Regions from separate parts of the Homo sapiens genome. Here region 1 is linked to region 2. Evidence: promoter capture Hi-C in human tissues and cell types (Jung and others, 2019). All regions are on one chromosome and are shown on one strand. Each heading gives the region's core, a stretch centred on a gene start or on the middle of the fragment in contact. The rest is flanking DNA. Distances are from core to core; before and after follow the strand shown. Region 1 holds the start of MICALL1 (MICAL like 1). Region 2 holds the start of SH3BP1 (SH3 domain binding protein 1).

Region 1 (6,843 bases), core at 280-2,779, 270 kb after region 2:
AGGCCAGCCCAGATTGGCAAGCTGGGTTCTCCAGGCCCTGGGCCAGTATTCTGGACTGGGACTCAGTGGACTTTGAAGAGGTAGAATTCCCTAAGTCGGCCTCTCTCCTTGATAATTTACCCAGAATGGCCCAGATGACAATCTGGGTACAAAATATTTCAGTCCATTTCATCATGTTTACCAAGTACCAGGAGTCAATAGAATTTATGAGTGATAACTAAAGGGTAAGGCACTTTACATCTTAATCCTCTCAGCCACCTTGTAAAGCAGGTATTATCTCCATTTTTAAGTCGTGGAAACTGAGGTCCAGGGAGGCACAAGATCACATGACTAAGGGAGTGGGGAAAGCCAGGATTGGAGATTGGGTTAATAGGGCTCCAAAATGCCTGATCTTTCCACTCCCCTGAGTGCTCAGGGGTGATGAAGATGACTAAGACCCTGTTCCTTCCCTTGGGAGGGAGCGAAATACCCACTCCAGCTAACTATTGCATGGGTCAGGGTGACATCACCACCTCTGCAGCAGATGGAGGCTGATTCATCTGTGGGAGAGTCAGGAGGGGCCTCTGCGGAAGGGTCGGCTGGCTGGAAGGGTTGGCTGGCTGGAAGGGTCGGTTGGCTGGCGGGGGTTTTGAAGACGGCAAAGATAGAGAATGAGCCTTGGGGAGGTTCCAGGGCCAGATACAAACTGCCTGTATGCCTCCCAGGCAGGGGCCTCCTTGGCCTAGGTCCTTCCCATAGGAACTCAAACCACCACCACACTAACCATGGCTGAGGGGACCCGGCAGGCCGCAGTGGGGAGGGACGAGATCCCTGAGCTTACACAGGGGCTGAGGGGAGCTCAGTGAATCACCTAGGGGACACCTGGACCAAAGGTGGCGGAGGGGCGCATGGGTCTCCCTGCCAAGCTATGGGGGAGGGGATGGTGGACATGACAACTTCCAGCTCAGCGGTGCTTTAGGGTGGGGAGCCGGGATGAGGGAAGCTGGTGGCTATCCGGGGGGGGGTGCTCTGAGGTCTGCAGGGGAACTGCCTCCCCAAAGTTTCAAGCTAGGGGTGGAAGGGGGGATTTGCGGTCATTAGGAGCGGGAAGGAGGCCGGATGGGAGCACGAGGTGTCCCGCCTCCAAAGGGTGGAGGGCTCCCGGTGGGTGGCGCGGCGGCGGCCGCGGCGGTGAAGTCATCGTGGGGAGTGGTCCGCTTGCGGCGGGTGCGGGGGCTTCGCGGGCACCCAGTGGAGCAGCGGGAGCCCGGCGCCGTCGAGGGGCGGGCGATGGGGCGCCGGCCCGTCTTGGTAGGGGTGGGCTCCGCACTGGAGGCGGAGCTGCTGCTGGGTGGGGCGCGCCTCCGGCGCGGACGGAGGCGGCGGGACGCCCGCTCCCACGACCGGCCCACAATGAGGCGAGCGGGCAGCGCGGAGTAGGCGGCGGCCGGCCGGGCCGGGCCACGCGGCGGCGCTGCTCGGGCAGGTTAGGGCAGGGCCGCGGGGCGCCCGAGCGAGGACACCGCGGCCCCGCCTCCGCCCCTCCCCTCGCCTGCCGGTCGGCGCCCGAGCTCGGAGCCGCAGCCGCAGCCGGAAACCGGGCCCGCGCGGCGGCCGCCGTCCCGGCCAAGCCGGGGCCCCGAAGCCAGAGCCGGAGCCGGGCGGGCCGCGGGGTCATGGCTGGGCCGCGGGGCGCGCTGCTGGCCTGGTGCCGCCGCCAGTGCGAGGGCTACCGCGGCGTGGAGATCCGCGACCTGAGCAGCTCCTTCCGGGACGGCCTGGCCTTCTGCGCCATCCTGCACCGGCACCGGCCCGACCTGCTGTGAGTGCGGGGCCCCGGGCGAGCGGGCGGCGCGGGGCGGGCTGGGGCCGCGACCGCCGCCCCCCCTCAGTAACACGAAGCCCGGGCGGTGACAGGCGCCGCCCCCGGACACGGAGACGCCGACCCCCCCGACGGCCCCGGACGCCGGGCGGGTCCCTGAGACCCCGGCCCAGGGCGCCCCTCCCCCGCCCGGCCGCCCTGACCCCGCCCGTGGGATCCCGAACTCTCCCCCGAGGCTGGTCCCTCCGCGGGGACACTGGCCCCGCCCACAAAGCGCTGATTTCCGCCGAGGATCGCTGAACCCCTAAGCCCTTGACCTCTTTGAAGGGGTGTTGAGCCCTCTTTGGGGGCCCTGGGCCTCTCCTACCCTAAACTCTTCTCCACGGGCTCGCCGGGCCTCCCCTCTCCCCCGAGGCTTCCCACTCGGGGTGGCCCCTTGCTCCGGGTGTGCAGGTGAACCCCCACTTCTCTGACCCCCAAATAGGAGCTTGTCTCCGGACAGTAGCACAGTTCCCGGCACAGAGGAGACCTCGGCTAACAGGTGTTGGATGAATGGATGTACAGACCCTGTGCTTTCCCCACGCCCCCCAACTTAGGACGCAGCCCTGCCTCCCGGGTGTGTGCTCGATGGCCCTGCAGCCCTCCTCAGTGGGGCACGCAGGTGGGGCGCGCAAGAGGAGTCACAGGCCGGCAATGTTGGGAAGACTCCTAGGATCCGATTGATAGACACCAACCGGGTGCTGCAGGTTGTGAAATGGCCCCTTCCTGCCCAGAGCTGCCCAATGAGGTTCTCATGGGAAAATGCATTCAGACTCCCCGGAACAGTTGACTTGGAGCCTCTGTCTTTGCTCTCTCTGCCTTGAGCCCTGGAACCTCTCCTCCTTTCGTCCCTTCATTCCTAAAACACTGGGTGAGTTTATCTGGTGCCATTCCTTGCACTTCAGGTCTCACCTGTGAATCAGGGAGGAGAGTTCTGGTCCCTACCCCTTTCGCATGCAGCCCTCTTGCCAGGGCTCCCCCAGCCTGGCAGATGGAGGCTTTCTGTGCCTGTTCCACCTCCAGATTTGCACTGTCCGAGGGCAGCATGTGGGAAGGCTTCTAAGGGATTGCCTCAGGATTCCATGATGCAGGTGCACCTGGTTTACCTGTATGTACCCTGCAGTACCGTGTCTGTGGGTGGTGGCTTGGGCCCTGGAGGAGAGGGTTTTGGGGCTGTGGATACAGAAGGGAACAAGATGAGGTGGTCATGTAGGTGGGCCCCTGCCCGCTGTGGGGCATGTGACACCCATACTAATGGAAGCACAAGGTTGATGCCTGGTTGCCCAGGAGCAGGGGGTAGAAGGATGGAGGAAAAGGGCACCAGGGTTAGACCTGGGCATTGGAAGGGAGGGCCCAAGGGGTCTTCTGTTTTGTTTGAGGGGCAGGAGTGAGGCAGGAAGCAGGGACAAACCCAGTGTGGGAGGGGACTTGGGTGTGAAGTGAAGCCATTTGGTGGGCCTGAGCCTGGTGGCATCAAAGTAAATAAAGGCCGCCTGGTTTGTGTTTAGCTTCTCCATGTCTTAGGCGCATGGCCTTGGGTCCTCATGGGCTCTCTCCAGGCATCAGTGTCCTCATCTGTGAGGTGGGATTGATAATGTGACACAGCTCACAGAAATGTGAGGATTGCATGAGATAACAAGCATTCATTTAACATTAGTTACTGTGAGTAACTAATGTTACTTTTTTTTTTTTTAATGTTTTTTATTTTTTTGAGATGGGGTCTCACTCTGTCACCCAGGCTGGAGTGCAGTGGCACAGTCATGGCTCACTGCAGCCCCCACCTCCCGGGCTCAAGCAATCCTCCCACCTCAACCTCCCTAGTAGCTGGGACCACAGGCACACGCCACCACGCCTGTCTAATTTGTTTGTATTTGTAGAGATGGGTTTTCACCATGTTGCCCAGGCTGGTCTTGAACTCTTGAGCTCAAGTAATCTGCCTACCTCAGCCTCCCAAAATGCTGGGATTACAGGCATGAGCCACCATGCCTGGCCCAATAACAATGTTTGATTTCTTCATTTATTCAACCAGTATTTGTAGAGTCATATTGCTCTGTGCTGGACACTGTACCTGGTAATGGAAGTACCAATCGACAAAACAGGCAACCCTACACGCTCTCCCACACCTGTAGGGGAAACGTGTATAAACGATGATGGCAATTCCATGTACCCTATCAGAGGGCTGGGGGTGGGAGACCTCCTAGGGAGAATATAGTCTTCAAGGAGATGGCAGGAGCCAGGTGAGGGCTGCTGGGTGGACGTTCTGGCATGGGACCCCATCTGAGCAAAGGCAAGGGGCGGGAGGTGTGTGCAAAGCTGGAGGCTGTGTAGCTGAGTGGGGAGCACAAGGTAGCGAGTTGGGAGATGCAGTTGGGACAGATGGCTGACAGCTGCTTTTGCTGGCTAAGGAGCATGGATAGGGGCCTCAGGGAACCATGCAGGGTTTTTTTTGTTTTTGTTTTTGTTTTTTTGAGATGGAGGCCTGTCACCCAGGCTGGAGTGCAGTGGCGTGATCTCGGCTCACCACAACCTCTGCCTCCCGGATTCAAGCGATTCTCCTGCCTCAGCCTCCCAAGTAGCTGGGATTACAGGCACGCACCACCATGCCTGGCTAATTTTTGTAGTTTTTAGTAGAGATGGGGTTTCACCATGTTGGCCAGGCTGGTCTCGAACTCCTGACCTCAGGTGATCCGCCTGCCTCGGCCTCCCAAAGTGCTGGGATTACAGGCGTGAGCCACCATGCCTGGCCGAGCCACGTAGGTTTTTTTTTTTGAGACGGAGTCTCGCTCTGTCAGCCAAGCTGGAGTGCAGTGGCATGATCTCTGCTCACTGCAAGCTCCACCTCTTGGGTTCACGCCATTCTCCTGCCTTAGCCTCCCGAGTAGCTGGGACTACAGGTGCCCGCCACCATGCCTGGCTAATTTGTTGTATTTTTAGCAGAGACGGGGTTTCACTGTGTTAGTCAGGATGGTCTCAATCTCCTGACCTCGTGATCCACCTGCCTTGGCCTCCCAAAGTGCTGGGATTATAGGTGTGAGCCACCGCGCCTGGCCAACCACGTAGGTTTTAAGCAAGGGAGGGATGTGGCTGGAAAAAATGTGCAGGGGAGGGTGGCTCCGCTTCTGAGATCCAGAATCATGTCCAGGCATTCATTTGCAATATTGCCAGCGCATTGCACAGGAGAGAAGCTGAGGCCCAGGTCCCACATAATGTGTAGGGAAGTCCTCAGTGATGGGTTGGGAGGATCTCCGTGAGAATAGGAGTGGCCTAGAGTGAGGGCAAGAATCATCTCCTAAATTGGTTCAGGCTTCTGGGGCTGTGGGCCCTGCCTGGGTGAACCCAGTGTTGGCCCAGGGCTCTGCTGGGACGAGGGTTGTGGGGGCTGGGCCATCCCTCCGCACCACCCGAAATCCAGACATGCTTAAGCTCCTTTGAGGGCGTGGACCATGTGGGTTTCATTTCTGTGTCCTTCATCTTCCCCAGAGCCAAGTAGAACTCCGCAGGCCTCTGAAGACTCTCAGAAAATATATGTGTTACCAAAACACAGATGTTAATTAGGGACAGAGATGGGGGTGGAAGAAAACCTGCAGGATCCTGAAGGTTTTTTACAGTTTTCACACTGTTTTCAACATTGATTCATTCAACAAACATTTACGGAGCATCTTCGAAATTTGGGGAACTGTGTAGGGAGTTGGGGGCACAGAGTAGCTAGAATGTGACCCCAGCCTTCTTGGAACACTTCTGGGGTGACCGAAATAAACGGCTGAGACAAGTTGCTTTTGTCTCATTTGGTCTTGGAAAAAGCCTCTGTTGGGGGCTGGGTACCATGGTGTTTTCCTCGCCCTGTTGCAGTGTCCTGAACCGGACCGGGAGACAGAGGTTTCGAGAGGTGAAACACCTTGCTAAGGTCGCACTCTGAGGCAGTGGCAGAAAAGGGGAGCTAGGGAGGCAGCCCAGGGGAGAAGGAAGTGGCCTGGTCAGAGTGGCAAAAAGGGAGCTGGTGCCCAGACATAGTCACCTTGCCTCTCCCCGTCCACCCAGCCCTGGGGCACCAGACCCCTTCCAAGGTCCTCAAGCAACTCTTTCCTGCCCAGGGTTCACAGTCCCTGGCCCCTGCCTGGAAAAGTGTTGGGGGCAGGAGGAGGGGGCTGTGCTTACCTGGCTCCCTCATATCTGCGAGGCCTGCCCTTTACCAAGCTGGGACTCCACCAGCTTGGGAGGTGGTATTAGTGCTTTTCCTGATTTGCACATGGGACAATGAATGCTGGAAGGACTGCTGATCCCCCCAACCCCATGGTCACATGGGAATTCAGCCCTCAGAGGCGGCGTGGCCTGCTCTTGCCTCTGCCCACCCATCTCCGGCAGTCAGGGCTGCAGTTTTCAGCCATAGAAGGGCAAGGCTGCATGCGGATGCACCCAGGAGGCTGCCCGGCGGGAAGACTGAGCTGTCTCTGCTGGTTTCAGCGGCCTGGAGTGGGGAGGGAGGAGGGGGATAAATAAAGCCTGCAGGCCAGCCAGCTGTCCCGTGCTGGGGCCCCCAGACAGGCCCTGCCACCTCTCACCTTTCCTAGTTTAGAAAATCCCTCACTGCTTCCCCAATGGAGGCTGCCCCAGGAGTGGCCCAGTGGGGCCAACCAGCTGTTCTATGCCAGCAGCTCCGGAGTATGTACATTTCCACTCTGGTTCAAACTTGTTCTTCTATTCACGGCCCCATTAAGAAAAACATTCATCTGCAGGCTGGACCGGGTTGGGATGCAGCAAGTTGGTGTGGCTACTCCGAGTGTGTGACACACCTGCAGGGGCCTGTGAGCAGTGGGAGGGCCAGACATGTGGATTCCCAGGGCTGGTGGCTTCCTTTCTCCAGGCCTCAGTGTCCTCATCTATAAAATGAGATCAATTCTTGCCAAACAGAGTTGCTGTGAAAAGAAAGTAAATGAGACAGAGGAGCCCAGCACTGCGCCCTGGGGGAGGTCACATGCGGGTCTTAGTTATGTCTTTGCCACGGA
Region 2 (4,454 bases), core at 1-2,500:
CAATGAGTCCTGCCTCATTAGGGAGGAGAGAAGCAGCCAGTGAGTGTGCCAGGCCCTGGGCTAGGTGCTGGGAGTATGGAGATGTGTGGGGCCAAGGTCCTGCCTCTGAGAGGCGCCCAGTCTGCACCGGCACACAGTCTGCACCGGCACACAGTAGTGGCTCAAATAGTCTCAAACTAAACTGAAACTAACAAAGCAAAGTGCAGAGGGTGTGGCAGGACTCTGGGGCACACCCTCCCCTCTTCCCCACGCCTGCGGCTCCTGATGCCACAGGGGTGCAGGGTAAGGAGAGCCTACTGTTTCCTAAAGGCGCTCACATCTTGTAAAACCAGCAGTTATGGAGCACTTACTGTATGCCTAACTCTGTGTTGAGTGGAGGGCCAAAGAGGAGAACTACTGAGTTTGGGGGCAGTCAGAGCAGCACCTACATCATTGCCCTACAAGAAGGAAGGGGGACTGAGGCTGTTTGCCAGGAGGAATGAGAGGAGACGGGCTTCACAGATGGAGCAAACTGCCAGGAGATGTGGAGAACAGGGTGTCGCGAACCGCTCTGGGAGGGTTCCTGGTGGCTGAGGGGTGGCACGCACCTCCCTTAAAGGGAGCTGGCAGGGGTGTCTTGTCCACTCTGCAGAATGGGCAGGCCCAGGACAGCTGGCCCATCAGACCATTAGAAACAGCGAGTCCGGAGTTCCAGGGGCTTGTCCACGGCCACACAGCAGCCCGTGGCCCCAGGAAGCCAAAGCTCCCAGCCAGTCATCCAGTGGTGGGGGGTTTAGTTCCAGGGGGCCAGAGGTCCTCTGCGGAAGAGAGTGCAAGGCAGTATCCGCGGCAGGCCCAGAGAGGCCAGGACAGGTCAGAAAGGCCTACCCCTCTTTCGCTTGGTACCCTTTCCTCTTTGCGAGGGATGCAAAGGTTATTTATACTTCGGGTCTGCAGGCTGCGGGTGGGGCAGGCACCCCGCCTGGGGCGGGTTGCGGGCGCAGGGGCAGGAATGGGCTTACCTGCTTCCCGCCACCGGGGCTGGGCGGGGCGCTGCGGGGAGGAGGAGCCGGGCACAACCTGTGGACGGCCGCGGCCGGCGGACACACAGCAGCGGGGGCCCGGCCGGGGGTCGCCCGGGGGCCCGGAAGCCGGGGAAGAGCGAGGAAACCAACTTGGAGAGAGGAGTGACCTGGGGGCCGGGGGCGGAGTCGTGAGCGGGGGAGGAGAGAGCCGGCCGCCAGCAAGAGCCGCGCGGCGGCCCAGGAAGCGAGAGCGCCGCCCACCCATCCGGGGCAAGAGCCGCGCCGCAGGAGAGGCAGGCTGGACCGGGGGCTCCCCGGGCCCGCGACCCCCGCCGTGACCCCGCAGCCCCCAGCTCGCCCCCAAGATGATGAAGAGGCAGCTGCACCGCATGCGGCAGCTGGCCCAGACGGGCAGCTTGGGACGGTGAGTGTCACCCGCTTCCAGCCCCACTCTTACCCCGGCAGGACTTGAGGGGTCGTAAAAGGGTCGGGGGAGACGGGGGTGGGGGAGGCTGGGGACAGCTGGGCAGCCACCCTCTGAGCGGCCAGACTCCTGCTCTCTCTTCCTCCTCTCTGAACGCCGCCCCCGTCTCTCGGGCAGAGCTGGAGGAGCAAGGGTGGCCTTTGGGGGAAGGGATGCCCCCCCTTACCGGATTGGAGGGGGCTTCAGGCGGGAGAATGCTCTCTGCCCTAGGACGCTGGGACTTCTCTGCCTCCACGAGTCTCTAAGTGGATGGTCCTCCTGACCTCACTTGTCCCCTCTGGACAATGGGACAGTTCACCACCTCTGCTTGCTGGGCCGGGGAGGGAGGAGGGTCGATTAGGGCCACAGACCTGGGGCGAGGGGAGGAGATGGGTCCTGGCCTGGTGGGAGGAGGGGCCTGCCCCTGGCCTGCAGCGTCCCTCCCCCTCCCCCTCCCCCCAGCCCAGGGGCCTCCTGCTTCTGTCTCGTTTCTGCTTTTCCTGGACTCAGGTGGAAATATCCCCAGGTCTCCCAGCTCCCACCCCCAGCCTCTGAGCCGGTGGCACGGAGGCCGGAAGTTTGGGGAGCCTCTCAGAGCCTGTCTTCTCTGCTCCTCTTCCCCCAGCCTCAGGAGTTCCCCATTCTCTGGGTCCAGGGAGGGGACTGGGTGTCCAGAGACCTGGTTCTAGTCTCACACTGGCACAGATGCCTACATAGCCTGGACAGTCAGACCACCTTGCAGTGGGCCTTGGCATCCCCCATGTGTCCCCAGGTGGGGGCCAAGGGCCTGTGCACCCCTGCCCACAGCTGTAGTCCAGAGTGCTGTGTGACTGTGCCTAGGAGTCTGAGCTCCTGCACTTCCCGTTCTTGGGGCCAGCTAATACTCCTCATCCCGGGGTGGGCTGAGGATTTGGGAGTGGGCAGAAAAGAGGCTTCTGTGTCCCAAAGCTGGGCCCCGGGTGGGTCTCTCAGCCTCCCCTTTAGTTTCATCTGTCCGCCCTCTCTCAGGACACAGCCCTGGGTGGAGGAGGAAAAACCCATGTATCCTATTCCCACCCCCATGGAATGTGCTCCGACTGGGATGAAGCAACTGGGCCACCCAGGGCAGGCCTCAGCTGGGAGGGACAGTGGAAGCACTGGGGTCCAGGTGCCCTGCTGCGGGGAAGGGAAGTAGGGGGCGTTCTAACCCAGGCAGGCTCAGCAGAAGCACTCTCCCCCCCCCCCCCACCACTCCCCGCAGCACCCCGGAGACCGCTGAGTTCCTGGGTGAGGACCTGCTGCAGGTACGTGCCTGGGCCGGGCAGGTGGGAAGGCAGGCCTGTGCAGGCTGTCTCGGAGCAGAGGGCCGGGGCGGGGACGCCAGGTAGGGGCCTGGGTTGAGTCATTCCTCAAGCTGTTGGCCATGGGGTCCCCAGGGGACAGGAGAAAGTTTCCTGCTCAGGGGGAGACAGCCTCTCTTGATCCTTAACCTCCATACCTCCTTCCCAGGTAGAACAGCGGCTGGAGCCGGCCAAGCGGGCAGCCCACAACATCCACAAGCGGCTGCAGGCCTGTCTGCAGGGCCAGAGCGGGGCAGACATGGACAAGCGGGTGGTGAGTGGGGGGTCCCGGGAAGGAGGGGCCTGAGCAGGAGACTTCCATCCAATGGGGAAGCAAGGTCGGGGCTGGGGTTTCCTTGCCAGTCTGAGTGTCTGGCACCAAGGGCATGGAGACTGCTCTGTTCCAAGGCCCCTCTGGCACTGCACTCAAGAGGCCCTATACCTTCCCCATCACCTTTACCCCACTTCCCTGTGCACCAGTTCCCATAAGCCAAGGCCAGGCTTCTGACAGCACCTGAACTTCTCTGTCCAATCAGTGCGCAAGAGCAGGCTGTCAATGGGGCGGCCTCAGAGGGTTTCCTGAAGGAGGTAGCAATTGAGCTGGCTTTTGAGGGATACACGTTTATTAATCAAGAGGCAGCGTTTATTGGCTGATAACCGCCAGCTTGTTACTAACATATGAGTGCACTGTCTCATGGAACACTGGCACAACCCTAGGGGCAGGCATTGCTTTACACATGAGGAACTGGAGGCTCAGAGATAAAGTCACTTGTCCAAGGTCACATAGCTAGTAAGTGGCAGAACTGAGGTTTGAACCCTGGTCTCTGATCCCAGAGCAGGCATTCCCCGTAACTCCAGATGGGGTGGGAGTGTGGGGCCATGTTTTGGAATCAGTTGACAATTCAGTGTGGCCAAGGCAAGGAAATTGGGAGCCATAGAGCGTTTGAACTCAGCGGTGGCTAGGTCAGCCATATATACCCTGGGACAGGGGAAAGAGCTCCCGCTCCCATTCTCCCTCCACCTGTGTGACCTGGGGCAAGCTCCCTGCCCTCCCTGCATCTTAGTTTCCCAGTCTGCAGTAGGACTTGGTCATTCCTTCCTGCCCAGTCAAGTGGCTTCTGGGAAGAGGAAAGGGCACGCCAGATGGAGAGGGGCTCCATCCATGCTCTCAGGGAAATGTCACCCCCACCACGCCTTGTCATCTTGTTTCCACTCTCATCTGGGACTGTGGCCCTCCTGGGTTCCCTCCTCCCCTGCCCCAAGGGGCTGGCCTGGTGCTCAGGCAGGGTGGAGGGAGGCACGGACACTCATCGCCGGCCCCACCCTCCCTGCAGAAGAAGCTTCCCCTCATGGCTCTGTCCACCACGATGGCTGAGAGCTTCAAGGAGCTGGACCCTGATTCCAGCATGGGGTGAGCACAGACGGGGCCCAGCCCTCACCTGGGGATACCAAGACGTGATCTCAGCTGGGAGGGGGTCCAGGTGGTGAGGGCATCCACATCAGAAGAATGACCAGGCTGGGGACAGTTCCCAGGTCAGTGAGGGTGGCCAGGCCTGGGAGGGTGTTCAGCTTAGCAGAGATGAAGGATATCTAGGAGGGGCCGGAAGTGAGGGAGGAGAGGCCCCACCAAGTGTTTCCAGTGGAGGTGAGGGCAGCGGGCGCCTGGAC

Evidence for each region. Contacts are between HindIII fragments. The study calls those that stand out against the background at their distance.
Region 1: the fragment with the promoter of MICALL1 here is called in contact with the fragment with the promoter of SH3BP1 in region 2 in 1 of the 25 tissues and cell types used here (lymphoblastoid cells).

The regions. Positions count from the first base shown.
Region 1 is chr22:37,904,768-37,911,610 of GRCh38, forward strand. It overlaps MICALL1 (MICAL like 1), which reads left to right and starts at 1,530. Exons shown (of 16, transcript NM_033386.4): 1 at 1,530-1,801. The coding sequence starts at 1,656. RefSeq lists enhancers at 221-1,036, 1,037-1,852, 1,853-2,668, 2,669-3,482, 5,472-6,265 and silencers at 1,143-1,862, 1,973-2,082. The HindIII fragment of the contact is 31,369 bases long and covers 1-6,843 here.
Region 2 is chr22:37,638,419-37,642,872 of GRCh38, forward strand. It overlaps SH3BP1 (SH3 domain binding protein 1), which reads left to right and starts at 1,251. Exons shown (of 18, transcript NM_018957.6): 1 at 1,251-1,428; 2 at 2,708-2,750; 3 at 2,956-3,060; 4 at 4,121-4,197. The coding sequence starts at 1,370. It overlaps PDXP-DT (PDXP divergent transcript), which reads right to left. Exons shown (of 6, transcript NR_109952.1): 6 at 3,414-4,454. RefSeq lists silencers at 1-218, 849-998, 1,029-1,468. The HindIII fragment of the contact is 22,988 bases long and covers 1-4,454 here.